2 separate regions of the Homo sapiens genome follow, and region 2 is linked to region 1. Evidence: promoter capture Hi-C in 16 types of primary human blood cells and fetal thymus (Javierre and others, 2016). All regions are on one chromosome and are shown on one strand. The core of a region is centred on a gene start or on the middle of the fragment in contact, and the rest is flanking DNA. Distances in the headings are between cores, read along the strand shown. Region 1 holds the start of SYNPO2 (synaptopodin 2). Region 2 overlaps SEC24D (SEC24 homolog D, COPII component).

Region 1 (3,161 bases), core at 204-2,703:
GATGCTGTATGAAATTTCTCAGTGAGCCTGCTATATTTGTGGTGGTTTTGAACTGCATTGTGACAGGAGGTACTCCTTATAATTTTCCTTTTGCAAACATTTATTCCTTGATTGAATCCACCACCACTACAGCTGCCCTCACTCACTGATTCACCAAAAATTGGGTCCATGATTATCTTGTTTTTATTAATCTTTCTTAAATGCATGTGTAGCTGACATTTATTTCCATGTTTAATATTAGAAGTGTTTTAATCTTATTTAAAAGTTTGGTGATGTCTTTGTGACCAGAAATAGACTGTAGTCACTTAACCTTGTTTTTATCAATTAGTCGATGGTAAAATTGGTTTTAAAGTCACAGTTTCCATGAACCTATCTGTGACGTTTTAAGTGAGGACTTACTGTATATAGTGCTTCTTAGTGCTGAAACAGGCAGCGTGTCTGGAAATTTTGTTTGGTACCACAAGTAACACAAACAAACTTTCCCAGGCTCTTCCTTATTTAGTATGTTTTTATGTGGATGAATGTTATGGAAAACAAAAGTATTATAGGAAAATTAAAATGTCCTTTTTGTACATTTTTGGCAGATTGTATTCAGATTTAAAACATTTAAATATTTGGAATATACAAAATCTGCTTTTATATTGGACCACCCAGATTCATGACATGGGATGACAAACTATAAAAATAAGAAACCTGTAGGTGACATTGTACATTTTATGCAGTTGACTAACTGTTGGGTTTGGGTTTAAGAAGATCAGCAGGTAGAAAGAAAACAAAACACGTTAAAATTTAACATACCCAAAACTATGCAATAGATGTAATTATAAGAATGTAGTTTCCAGGAGAAAAATTCATATTCATTTTCTCTCTTTCTCTCTCCCTTTCTGTCTCTTCTCTTCCCCTTTCTCTAAATATATGGTTCAGAAAGGTACTTTTCAGAGCTGGAGGTTTATTAACAAAAAGTTTGTGCTTTCTTTTGTTTCCTCTTATAGGAATAATTCAGCAGAATGCAGACAGAAAAGTAGTAATTTAACTCATTTTAACTCTTTTTTGTCTATTCCATTCATAAATGTGGCAAGTCTCAAAACATTTATTTGAGAGAATCTAATCCTCTAGTAGTTGAATTCCCAACGCTCCTATTTTAGGACGTCATTCATGGCGTGGAGATTAAACCTTCATGTGTCCTTTACTATTTACAGAATTATTAAATGTAAGTTTTTCAATCATACTTATACCATTAACTGCTTGGATTTAATCTGTTAGTGCAAGATAACTTTGGCTCTCCCTTCCGTCCTCCTTTCCCTTATCTCGCCCCACGTGAGGACATTCTCCTGTGTGTGAAGCTGCTTTCCTTTCCTCGAAGGTGGGCCGAGCAAAGGAGAGTGACGCAAGAGTGGGCTGTGTCCTGGATGCTGCGAGCGCCTCTGCCTCCTTGAGAATGAGCCCATTAGCCGCACAAATTCGCAGCAGGCGGCTGGGGCGGCGGCTGGGGCAGCGGCTGCAGCAGCGGCGGACGCTCTGCATTACCCAGTCTTGCGTCCTCGGCAGGCGCCCGAAGCTGAGTGCGCATCCTCTACCGCACCCAAGCTTCGTCTGTCTCGTCAAGCTCTTCATGCTGCCCAACTAAAAGGAAAACATGGGCACAGGGGATTTTATCTGCATTTCCATGACTGGAGGGGCGCCCTGGGGGTTCAGATTGCAAGGTGGCAAGGAGCAGAAGCAGCCCTTACAAGTTGCAAAGGTAGGACCTGAACGAAGTGTCACGGCTCTGTGCTAGGAAGGAAGGAATGAAAGCAACCTGCTGATGGTGTTTTCAGGTTCTGATGCAGAAGTCTAAGTATTATTTGATTTTGCTGCGGATATTAAGATTTTTCTAGGAAGTGAGTTATTTTCTAAGAAACTTTGGAGAGTAATGGGCCACATCCTATGTAATTAACTTGCAATCGATGAGGGGTGGGTGGGAAGAATGCCATATTTATCAGCTGAGGAAAAGGCCTAGTTAACCATGTTCTTCTGACAACAAGCAAGACACTGGGGAGCGTTTCTTCCAGGCAATTTTAGAATGTTCAGTTGAGTTATTGTTTGATGTCACTTCACTTGGCTCTGGCAGAGGAGAAACGCTCAGTTCAGCATAACGACTTTGCTTGGCTATTTTGGGGACTCATATAGAGTGTTGGTAGTGACATTTATTATGCAGCATTCATGAAAAGGCCAATGTTGGGCAATAATTTTAAAAGTATGATGAAGTGTCATAAAATCTATTTAAAAGAATACCCTTTTAAGGATTTGACAAATAAATGCAAAAATCCAATAAATGCTGTATTCCTTCTTATGTACTCTTTTGGTCAAGATCTCAAAAATAAACTTAGAAGATAATCTAAATATATTATGAGTAACTAAGAGGTAACTTTGTAACACATTAATAACTATTTAAAATGCTTTAAGTTTTTATTGCCATTAGATTGCCTGCATTACTGGTTAGCCCAAGGGGATCTGGTATTCTCTAATTGGCATTCAGCTAAAATAAAACTTAAAATGCACAAAACTAAGCAAACTTTTACCTAACCTTATCATCAAATTGCAAATTATAGTATTGTATTGAAGAACATGCAAGAGCATGGGATTAATTTCCTATTTTATGCTTATATTAAAAATGGGTACAGATCTTTATGAAATACATGGGCCATTGCCTTTGTAGTTATTGTTTGTTTCCCTCTGGCTTTTACTCTTTTTTTTTTGTAGTTATTGTTTCCCTCTGCCTTTTACGTTTTTTTTTTTTTAGTGTCCTTTGCGAAGAAAGAAGTTTCTTTGAAACTCCTTTTTGCTTCCAGGCATCATATGTAAATCCTTTCGTAATGTGATGGTGGAATCCTGCCACCTAGTGAAAATTGCAAACATCAAGAATGAACCATAAAACAGTAGATGAAAAGCAGAGTTTTTATTACTGGAAAGTTCCTCCGAGGTCTGCAGTTCAACCCATGAATTTTAGATGAGGAAAGAGCCCAGAGATGTTAAGTAACTTGCCTTAAGTTTTCAGCTTGGAACTGGCAGAGTGATTAAAGGCTCAGAAAGGTGGTTTTGTTGGGTTCCTTTAGGAGTCAATAGCAGGCAACCTCAGATAAAATATGAATGCCCAATTTAGCATATGTAGAATTCATGAC
Region 2 (3,161 bases), core at 321-2,820, 120 kb before region 1:
GGTAAGTAAGGTCTTCAGAAAACTGAGGTGACAGTAAAGAATGTTAAAAGCTTTTTAACTGTTTACATTTTATTTTCAGGCAACAGGGCAAGGGCTTCTAAATTACACTGGCTTGTTTCATCTCTCTCAGGCCATGTTGAAAAGCATCAAAGATTTCCCTTTGCACTCTCCAGATGTCAGCTTATCTGCACCACAGTGTGCATGAGCTCATAAATAGCTAACCTTACTTTTCTTTTGAGTTCGATCTTGGTGTGCATGGCTTTAAAAAAAAATCAAGTTACTTTTCAAAAAATTGCCTAAGTTATCTTTTTTCCTTACCAAGGGAATTATATTTACCTCAGAAATATTTTCAGATTTTAAAAATTTTGTTTACAAATATACTTTAATATTTAGCTCTTAGTATATCCCTGTCTGCCCTTTCTTTTCTGTTCTTAAGTGGAAAAGTGAAAGGATAGAAAGACTGGCTATAAAAACCTCACCTGGCTATTGTTTGGTTCTGGCCCTGTGTGGCCTGAGTTTACACAACATGAAAGTGATAGGGAGGCTGAGGAAAAATGTGAATCTTTTCCTTGTATTTTTGGATTAACGGGTGTGCCAAATACTGTGCTGATACTAATTTTAATAAAAGTGCTTTAATTGAATAAAATGTATCTCTTGTGTATGTATATAAACACTGGTTGATTTTGGACCACAAGTGAGAATATCATTCTACGAAATGAGACTTAGTACTAAAATGATATCCAACAATTAAGAAACAAAATAAAACAACTTTTGATTATTTTTCCATGTAAAAGAAGCAGACATCAAGATGTATCCACCAATGCCTTCTTAATACCACTAGTAAAATTTTAAAAGTCTTCTTATTTGAATACATTATCAGTTTTCCGAGTATTGCTGCCATTCTCTTGGGTAACTTTAACATTTGTACCACAGGTACCTTTGAGGGACCTACAGTGTAGCGGGGTAGAAAGACAGTAAATAAAAAAGTACACACAAATGCCATGAAAAAAACAGGGTATGAGGAGAAACAATACTTGGCAGAACATCATAAACAAGAGCTCTTTTTAAAGCTCTTTTCAATTTAGAAAGGCGATGTTAAATTATTCACAGATTGTATTTCCAAAACAAACACAGATGCTCAAAGAAAATACAGTGTAGAAAGACCCATCATGAAAAATCTGTATCAAGTTTGTAGGCTGTGTGTATTTTTGTTTTGGCATCTATATTATTAAGAAAAATCTGAATACCCAAGCCTGGCTACAGTATTTCTGTTTTAGGAAAGTAATGAATTGCAATGAGGAATTAAAGAAAGCAGCTAAATACCAAAGTGTTTTTATCACATAGATCCAATAGGTGGCACTATGCAACTAAAAATTAAGGCTGTATATACCTTACCAGCAGGCAAGAAAACAACCAAGATAATCATGCTACATTCATTACATGTAACTCTAATAACTTTTAACTGAACTTGCTTTTCTCAAAGAAACTTTTGATAATGGTTTAAAAATATTCCGGGCCAAGCAAAATACAAATAAACATGGAATACAAGACTATTTTATGCATACATTGTATAGAAACTACAGAATGTGCCACATTTACTAATTGCCAAGAAAAACTTATTTTTAAAGTTCCTAATCCTCTGCCGACTTTCCTTGAGTATATGTAGGGAAACAGAGGTACGGTTGGGATAGGGAGCCACAAAGTGGAGCAGGCAACCTAATGACAGCCTGTGAAGCAAAGAGAACAATGACACGAATGCCCTGCTGCCAGCGTCCAAGCCCACTCTCCACATTAGCCATCGTGGTGCAAAATAACAAAGCAACAGTGATGTCTGGTGTGTCCTGGCACACGGCAGTACACTGCGATGAAGAAAAATGATTTTCTAAAGCAAACGCCTAGCTTCCTGTTGGAACATCCTATCACAGGCATGGTGCTGGTAAAGGGCAGAGACAGAGTAGCCAAAGCCCAGATTTCAGAATACTCTGAATAAGTAATGTCATACCCACCCACACTCAGAACATTGCTGGGTGAAACTGGCCCCATCTCTCCTTTCTTCTCTCATTGGTCCACTACCCACTCTCCTTATCTTTCAGCACCGGAGTTCATGTAAGTTCTAATATACACACACAAACTCTTCAACCACCTACTTTCCCCTCTCTTTCTAACACTTATTCACTAATTTTAAAAAAAAACTTATTTTACATTTTCAATGTATACTTCTTCCTCCCCCTTTTTTTTCTCTCTTTATTTCCTTCATTAGAAGTATTCAGGAATGTAATCAGCATCCTAGGACTCTACAGTTGTCCCCACAGCACCAATATTCTACTTTACAAAGTGCCTGAAGGAAATACCTTGGCTAAGCAGTTACTGGTCATGGGAAAGAAATTTTTGCCTACAATGGGACCTAAATAAGATGAGAAGATTTAAGATAAGACCTGCCAAAATGTTATACAGTTTTCTAGCCTGATTAAGGATCATATTCAGCATCAACTTGTATTTCCCAGGAAATCACTGTAAATGTATCTCTCTAGCAGCAGTGATTTCCTATTGTCAATGTAACTTTGGCAAGCGGCTACTTCTTGGAATTGGAGTGCTGCTTATTCTTTGGAACTGTCTCAAGAGGAGGTCAGTTGGTAATTTGGATTAATTGGGGGATATAAGTAGAAGCATGGAAATGGTATGTGAAAAGATAATCCAGAACCTGTGATGAACAACTACCCTTTAAAAATGTTAAACATTCAGACTATTAGGCATGCTGGAAGATGAGCAGTCAGTCAGATTCCCAAAGGATTATGCCCAGAGGCGAAAAGGAAAAGAGTCTGTATCAACTGCATTTATTAAAGACATTTCCATGTGAAAGAGAAATGAGAAGCAGCTTATATGTGCTTTCTACTTTTAGCTTTACTGTATATGACATTTACCTGGCCTATATGGACAAAAAAGGTACAGTTCAATAGGCTATTTACCGTACAAGTGCTTTTTAGAGAGCAATACTATTCTATTTAGAATTTTTTAAATACATGTGAAATGAAAGAATATTTTCTGAATTAAAAAATAAAATCCTATCATGTGTCTTCTAAAAAGAAACAGCAAGCTTGAGGATAAGACACTTAATACATTGTGTTAGTTCTAAGACTATATTTATATTTTTATAAATAATA

Evidence for each region. The method cuts DNA at HindIII sites, captures the fragments that hold promoters and counts their contacts. A CHiCAGO score of 5 or more calls a contact.
Region 2: a contact is called between a fragment that was not itself captured here and the fragment with the promoter of SYNPO2 in region 1, in 2 of 17 cell types (total CD4 T cells and naive CD4 T cells). The highest score is 5.7, in total CD4 T cells.

Annotation. Positions count from the first base shown.
Region 1 is chr4:118,887,401-118,890,561 of GRCh38, forward strand. SYNPO2 (synaptopodin 2) reads left to right here and starts at 1,454. Exons shown (of 5, transcript NM_133477.3): 1 at 1,454-1,741. The coding sequence starts at 1,637. The HindIII fragment of the contact is 15,302 bases long and covers 1-1,585 here.
Region 2 is chr4:118,770,912-118,774,072 of GRCh38, forward strand. The region is part of intron 8 of SEC24D (SEC24 homolog D, COPII component); the gene reads right to left. Among named protein-coding and RNA genes, the nearest start is that of SEC24D, 64 kb to the right of the region's middle. The HindIII fragment of the contact is 3,044 bases long and covers 49-3,092 here.